Linked DNA regions of Homo sapiens: region 2 is linked to region 1. Evidence: promoter capture Hi-C in human tissues and cell types (Jung and others, 2019). All regions are on one chromosome and are shown on one strand. The core of a region is centred on a gene start or on the middle of the fragment in contact, and the rest is flanking DNA. Distances in the headings are between cores, read along the strand shown. Region 1 holds the start of MMP1 (matrix metallopeptidase 1). Region 2 overlaps TRPC6 (transient receptor potential cation channel subfamily C member 6).

Region 1 (3,244 bases), core at 427-2,926:
TCTTCTTACCCTCTTGAACTCACATGTTATGCCACTTAGATGAGGAAATTGTAGTTAAATAATTAGAAAGGATATGACTTATCTCAAATCAATCCAAGATATACTGAAGTATTGTTTATGAGTAAGATATCAGTCTTGACGCAGAAAGAAAACAGGAATCCATAAGGGGAGGAAAGTGTTGAAAAGCAAACCTGATACAGTGGGAAAGGTGGGAGACACCATAAGGTGCTGAAGTGATAAAACAGGCCAGTGTTTCTCCACTGTATGTTTTCAATAAATGCTTCCAAGGAAGGAGAGTGGGGCATGAGTAGGGGAGCTACAGAGATAAACCAACTTTTCTTACCAGGAATGCTACAGATAGCACTGGTGACACCGGTCACCAGTACCCAAGACAATTTAATGTGGAACATAAGTACAGGAATACACATCTTTCATTACAGAGCCATGTATTTATTTTAATGGGCAGGAGATGCTAAATAAGATCTTTTGAATGGAGGAATGCATAAATATATGAATGAATGCATACATGAAAGAATAAATAAATGCTGCCTAGCACCAAGGAGCGAAGATAGACTCATATCAAGGGAAACAAGTATGATTAAAAATAAGACCCCAGAGTCACGCTCAGTCTCTTTCCAGCCTTTTCATCATCCGGTACATTCAGACAAGTTTCAGGGAAGGATCCTATTTGTCCCATGATAATGATGGGCAAGGGGTGGGGAGTTATCTCATACTCCGCCTGTGGATGAGGGGTCTTCTCAGGTAAGGCTCTTAAATCCTAGGCCTGAGTAAATTTTTTCAAATTTTATTTTAGACAGGGTCCCTCTCTGTTGCCTAGGCTGGAGTGCAGCGGCACAATCACAGCTCAATGCAGCCTCAACCTCCCAGGCCCAAGTGATCCTCCCACCTCAGCCTCTTCAGTGACTAGGACTACAGGTGCATGACTCCATGCTTGGCTAACTTTAAAAAATGTTTGTTTGTTTGTTTGTTTTTTACAGAGATGGGGTCTCACCATGTTGCCCAGGCTGATCTTGAACTCCTGGGCTCAAGTGATTCCCCTGCCTCGGCCTCCTGAAATTCTGGGATTATAGGCTTGAGCCACCATGCCTGGCTCTGAGTAAAGATTAAGGGAAGCCATGGTGCTATCGCAATAGGGTACCAGGCAGCTTAACAAAGGCAGAAGGGAACCTCAGAGAACCCCGAAGAGCCACCGTAAAGTGAGTGCTGGGGGAGCTGAACTTCAGTCAGTACAGGTGCCGAACAGCCATCAGGTGCGCAGTGTTAGTAATTCCACCCTCTGCCCTGGGAGCAAGGTGTGTGGAGAAACCTGTAGCACTTTATGACCATCAGAACCAGTCTTTTTCAAAAAGACCATGGAGTACTCTTTGACCTGTGTATATAACAAGAACCTTTCTCAAATAGGAAAGAAATGAATTGGAGAAAACCACTGTTTACATGGCAGAGTGTGTCTCCTTCGCACACATCTTGTTTGAAGTTAATCATGACATTGCAACACCAAGTGATTCCAAATAATCTGCTAGGAGTCACCATTTCTAATGATTGCCTAGTCTATTCATAGCTAATCAAGAGGATGTTATAAAGCATGAGTCAGACAGCCTCTGGCTTTCTGGAAGGGCAAGGACTCTATATATACAGAGGGAGCTTCCTAGCTGGGATATTGGAGCAGCAAGAGGCTGGGAAGCCATCACTTACCTTGCACTGAGAAAGAAGACAAAGGCCAGTATGCACAGCTTTCCTCCACTGCTGCTGCTGCTGTTCTGGGGTGTGGTGTCTCACAGCTTCCCAGCGACTCTAGAAACACAAGAGCAAGATGTGGACTTAGTCCAGGTAAATGCTGCATTGCATGTGACAATAATGTAAATTTTTAGTTTGTATTTTTCTGCAGTAATGTAATAGAGTTTTTTAAGGATAGGTTTCTTATAAAGAGATTTTTTTTTTTTTTGCTAGAAACAGCACCCTCCACCCAAAATGTATCTAGCCATGCATACGCTCTCTTTTTCCAGTTGGAGGTGAGAGTGAACTAAAGGAACAACATCCAAACTTGTCTCCACAAATTGTAGACTTGTAACAGTATGCAAATCTTGCTCTACAAAAATTGCTCTACTATGAAGTTCTTACTTCACAATAACTAATAGTAGGGACATTTCTACTCTGAAATTTCATTTCTCACCAAAAATAAGGATAAAAGCAACTGCGAAATCTAAACACAAGGTTTAAAAGCAGTTCTCTGTTTTGGCTAAAACTTAATGCCATCAATTTTTAGAATAATGAGAAAGATTTCCCATGCAGTGTTTCGATAATTTTCTTTTGTCAGAAATACCTGGAAAAATACTACAACCTGAAGAATGATGGGAGGCAAGTTGAAAAGCGGAGAAATAGTGGCCCAGTGGTTGAAAAATTGAAGCAAATGCAGGAATTCTTTGGGCTGAAAGTGACTGGGAAACCAGATGCTGAAACCCTGAAGGTGATGAAGCAGCCCAGATGTGGAGTGCCTGATGTGGCTCAGTTTGTCCTCACTGAGGGGAACCCTCGCTGGGAGCAAACACATCTGACCTACAGGTAGGCAGACTGAGGGCCAGAGTGAGAGAGCTATTTCCCATGACAGTGGTAAGAAGTCATGTCCAATGTGTCTCTATTTTGTTTCATTCTAAGGATTGAAAATTACACGCCAGATTTGCCAAGAGCAGATGTGGACCATGCCATTGAGAAAGCCTTCCAACTCTGGAGTAATGTCACACCTCTGACATTCACCAAGGTCTCTGAGGGTCAAGCAGACATCATGATATCTTTTGTCAGGGGAGGTAAGTTCTTCTTATAGCACCTTAACCTCACCTTGCCCCTAGATCTCGTAGCTTTGCAACTGGAATTGATTGTTTAAGATGAATGTTGATTTTATGGGCTCGAAGAGGGAAACTGCATCACAGTTGATGGAAGTCTGTTGGCCTCTTAACAAAGCTAATGCTTGCCCTTCTGGCTTAGCTTACATAAGAACCACAAGGAATCTTTGTTGAATTGTTTCTTTCAGATCATCGGGACAACTCTCCTTTTGATGGACCTGGAGGAAATCTTGCTCATGCTTTTCAACCAGGCCCAGGTATTGGAGGGGATGCTCATTTTGATGAAGATGAAAGGTGGACCAACAATTTCAGAGGTAAGCCAATCAAATTTGCCTCTCTCAATTCTCCCACCCCTTCATGTTTCATTGTAATATTGGTTGATTTAG
Region 2 (3,244 bases), core at 382-2,881, 1.3 Mb after region 1:
TTAAGGGATATGATTTCTGCATGGTGTACATATTGCCATTTAAGAATAGAACTCTTCAATTCTCCTTCAGATATATGCAAAGGACTCTAAATGCTGTAATGATTTCATGCCCACCATCAACTAAGCGAACAACATCTTCTTTAATGTTCAGAATAGCTGCATCTTTCCTTTTACTCCTTGAGGTTATATTTTCAGTCCAATTTCCTTCATAAATGTGATTCCTCATATTATAGCTTTTATTATTGTAAAGTCTCTTAAAATCCCTTTATATAGATATCAACATGTATATCATATATAAATAAAATACATATAACACACACATATATATGAAATTTTAGAATTTGTTTCATTTCCTCTTGCTAAAAGGCTCTGGATATTGAAAATACTCTGGAAAGAGTTGTCTTTATATCTATTATTAGTATATTAGATCAAAAACTACAAAAATCAACCCAGCTGTTAAAAATAATTAATATGGGCCGAGAATGGTGGCTCACACCTGGAATCCCTGCACTTTGGGAGGCCGAGGTGGGTGGATCATGAGGTCAGGAGTTTGAGACCAGTCTGACCAACATGGTGAAACCTGTCTCTACTAAAAATACAAAAAAATTAGCTGGGCATGATGGCACACACCTGTAATCCCAGCTACGCAGGAGGCTGAGGCAGGATAATCACTTGAACCTGGGAGGCGGAGGTTGCAGCGAACTGAGATTGCGCCACCGCACTCCAGTCTGGGCAACAGAACAAGACTCCGTCTCAAAAAAAAAAAAGAAAGAAAAAAAATACACATTTTGAAAAATAAATTTTAACTATGTGACACAATTCTTATTGGATGTATTTTTTAGTGGTACTCATCATGTTCACACTTTGGCTATATATTTAAGGAAAGAAAAATTGTGTGTGTGTATATATATATATACACACACACATATTTTATATTGTATATATATACACATTTTATATTGCGTATATATATACACATTTTATACTGTGTATACATATATACACATTTTATACTGTGTATATATATACACATTTTATACTGTGTATATATATACACATTTTATACTGTGTATATATATACACATTTTATACTGTGTATATATATACACATTTTATACTGTGTATATATATATACACATTTTATACTGTGTATATATATATACACATTTTATACTGTGTATATATATATACACATTTTATACTGTGTATATATATATATACACATTATATATTGTGTATATATATATACACATATACACAATATAAAATGTGTATATATATATACACATTTTATATTGTGTATATATATATACACATTTTATATTGTGTATATATATATATACACATTTTATATTGTGTGTGTATATATATATACCATATATACGTATATATATACGTATATATACACCATTTATGTATATATATGTAGCTAAAAATTAGTTGGTATGGCAGCCAGTATGTTATTTTAGTCTTTGTTGATAGGATATATAAATTATTAAAGGTTTTATGGAATAAAATTAAAAAAGGATAAATAGTAGTAGGAATAAATATTTCTAGATATGATTTGATAACTATCTTACTAGATTAAAATTCTAAATCAGAAAGAAATCACATAAAATTTCATCCATGGGCTTTGACCATTTTCCTGTAAAAATTTTGAGTTCTGCAAACCATTCCAAGTCACATTTAAAAGAATCACTCTCACTAAGCTTTTCTGCCTTGCCTGTTTGAGATACTTTTCTAGTGAATGATACATCTGAAAGATATTAAGAATAATATAAGGAATCATTTACATTTCAATACATGACAAAGCATTGTTTGGTATTCAGTATTCCCTGCTGATGCTGTCTTTGCTTAACTTTTTCTGGACTCTCACTCAAGAAGCGTTCATTCTTTGACAATTGTTGGCAAATGAAGAGGCAAAGTCATAAAAAATGGCCCTTGTTTCTGTCTCCACCCTGCACTGTCCATCTGAAATCAGAACATCCCAACATGAGCCAAGGTGCTGCATTTCTATCATTAAGCTTCATCTTCAGCAGAAATGTGTATTTATTCAGGGAAGCCCTTCAGGGTTTATAGTAGCTGGATACTGTAAAAGGGGGACTCTCTGTTGTTTAAAGGGGGACTCTCTCTTGCTTGCTACATGGGTGGGTGGGCGAGCAAAAGATGTATTTTCAAGGAAATCCATTTTAGGAAAGTGGAGATCTGCAAATTGATTCCCTAAAAATTATCCATATTCTACAGCCACTTGGAAAGTATTAATGTACCTCTGTTTGAAGACGATTAATCTATTTTATGACAGAGAATGGGACTTTTCATAACGATTTTGTAAGCTCCAATACATAGCTTGCTTTTCTAAGCACCTTCCAAACTGTCCCCTACTACAATAACCCATAGTACATTAACAAAAGAGACCATGGGAGACGTTACTGGGTTTCTGAGGCAGTTTTATCCTGTGCCTTGAACCTTCTAGGCCTAAGTGTTTTGTTACTCATATCACCACATGTATAGCTGGTTCCAAGCAGAGGTGACACGAGACCTCAGCAGAGAAATCTAACAATTAGATGGAGCCACAGGAACAAGAAGAAAACCAAGAGATGTTGGGGAGTTGCAGGTTTTTAAAGAAAATGGGAGAAAACATTAATACAATTTTTACCCATTCAAATTCAGTTTTTATATTGAATCTTTATAAATAGTTTTAGGCTTTGGTAGCATGAGACCTCAGCCATCTTAAGCTTAAAATTGGGTTAAGACAATTTTGGCAACACAAAGTCAGTAAAAAACAGAAAACCCAAAACTTTGACTGGTTTTGATACCAAAGAAGGACAGCAAAAACTCTTGCTTTCTCTCCTTGACTTGAGTTTTAATTCAAATAAGGGACAACAGACTTAAAGACAAGGAGATCAATACCAGGGATGGTCTTGTCCACAAACACATTCCCCAGCATTCTTAATTTCATTTTAGTTCTCAATATGTGCCCAGGACTTATGTCTCTAATTCCCTCTTTTTTTGAACCTATTTACCTTTTAGGTTGTTTGTAGTAACACACAATGTTTCTTTTTATTCCTCTTAAAAATCCCCTCTTTTGGGAACATCACACACCGGGGCCTGTCAGGGGGTGGGGGGCAATGGGAGGGAGAGCATTAGGACAAATAATGCATGCAGGGCTTAAAACCTAGATGACAGGTGGACAGGTGCAGCAAACCACCATAGCACATGTATACCTATGTAATAAACCAACATG

Evidence for each region. Contacts are between HindIII fragments. The study calls those that stand out against the background at their distance.
Region 2: a fragment that was not itself captured here is called in contact with the fragment with the promoter of MMP1 in region 1 in 1 of the 25 tissues and cell types used here (hippocampus).

What each region holds. Positions count from the first base shown.
Region 1 is chr11:102,796,592-102,799,835 of GRCh38, reverse strand. It overlaps MMP1 (matrix metallopeptidase 1), which reads left to right and starts at 1,676. Exons shown (of 10, transcript NM_002421.4): 1 at 1,676-1,848; 2 at 2,336-2,580; 3 at 2,674-2,822; 4 at 3,047-3,172. The coding sequence starts at 1,744. It also overlaps the pseudogene WTAPP1. The HindIII fragment of the contact is 22,607 bases long and covers 1-3,244 here.
Region 2 is chr11:101,497,738-101,500,981 of GRCh38, reverse strand. The region is part of intron 2 of TRPC6 (transient receptor potential cation channel subfamily C member 6); the gene reads left to right. Among named protein-coding and RNA genes, the nearest start is that of MIR3920, 21 kb to the left of the region's middle. The HindIII fragment of the contact is 3,753 bases long and covers 1-3,244 here.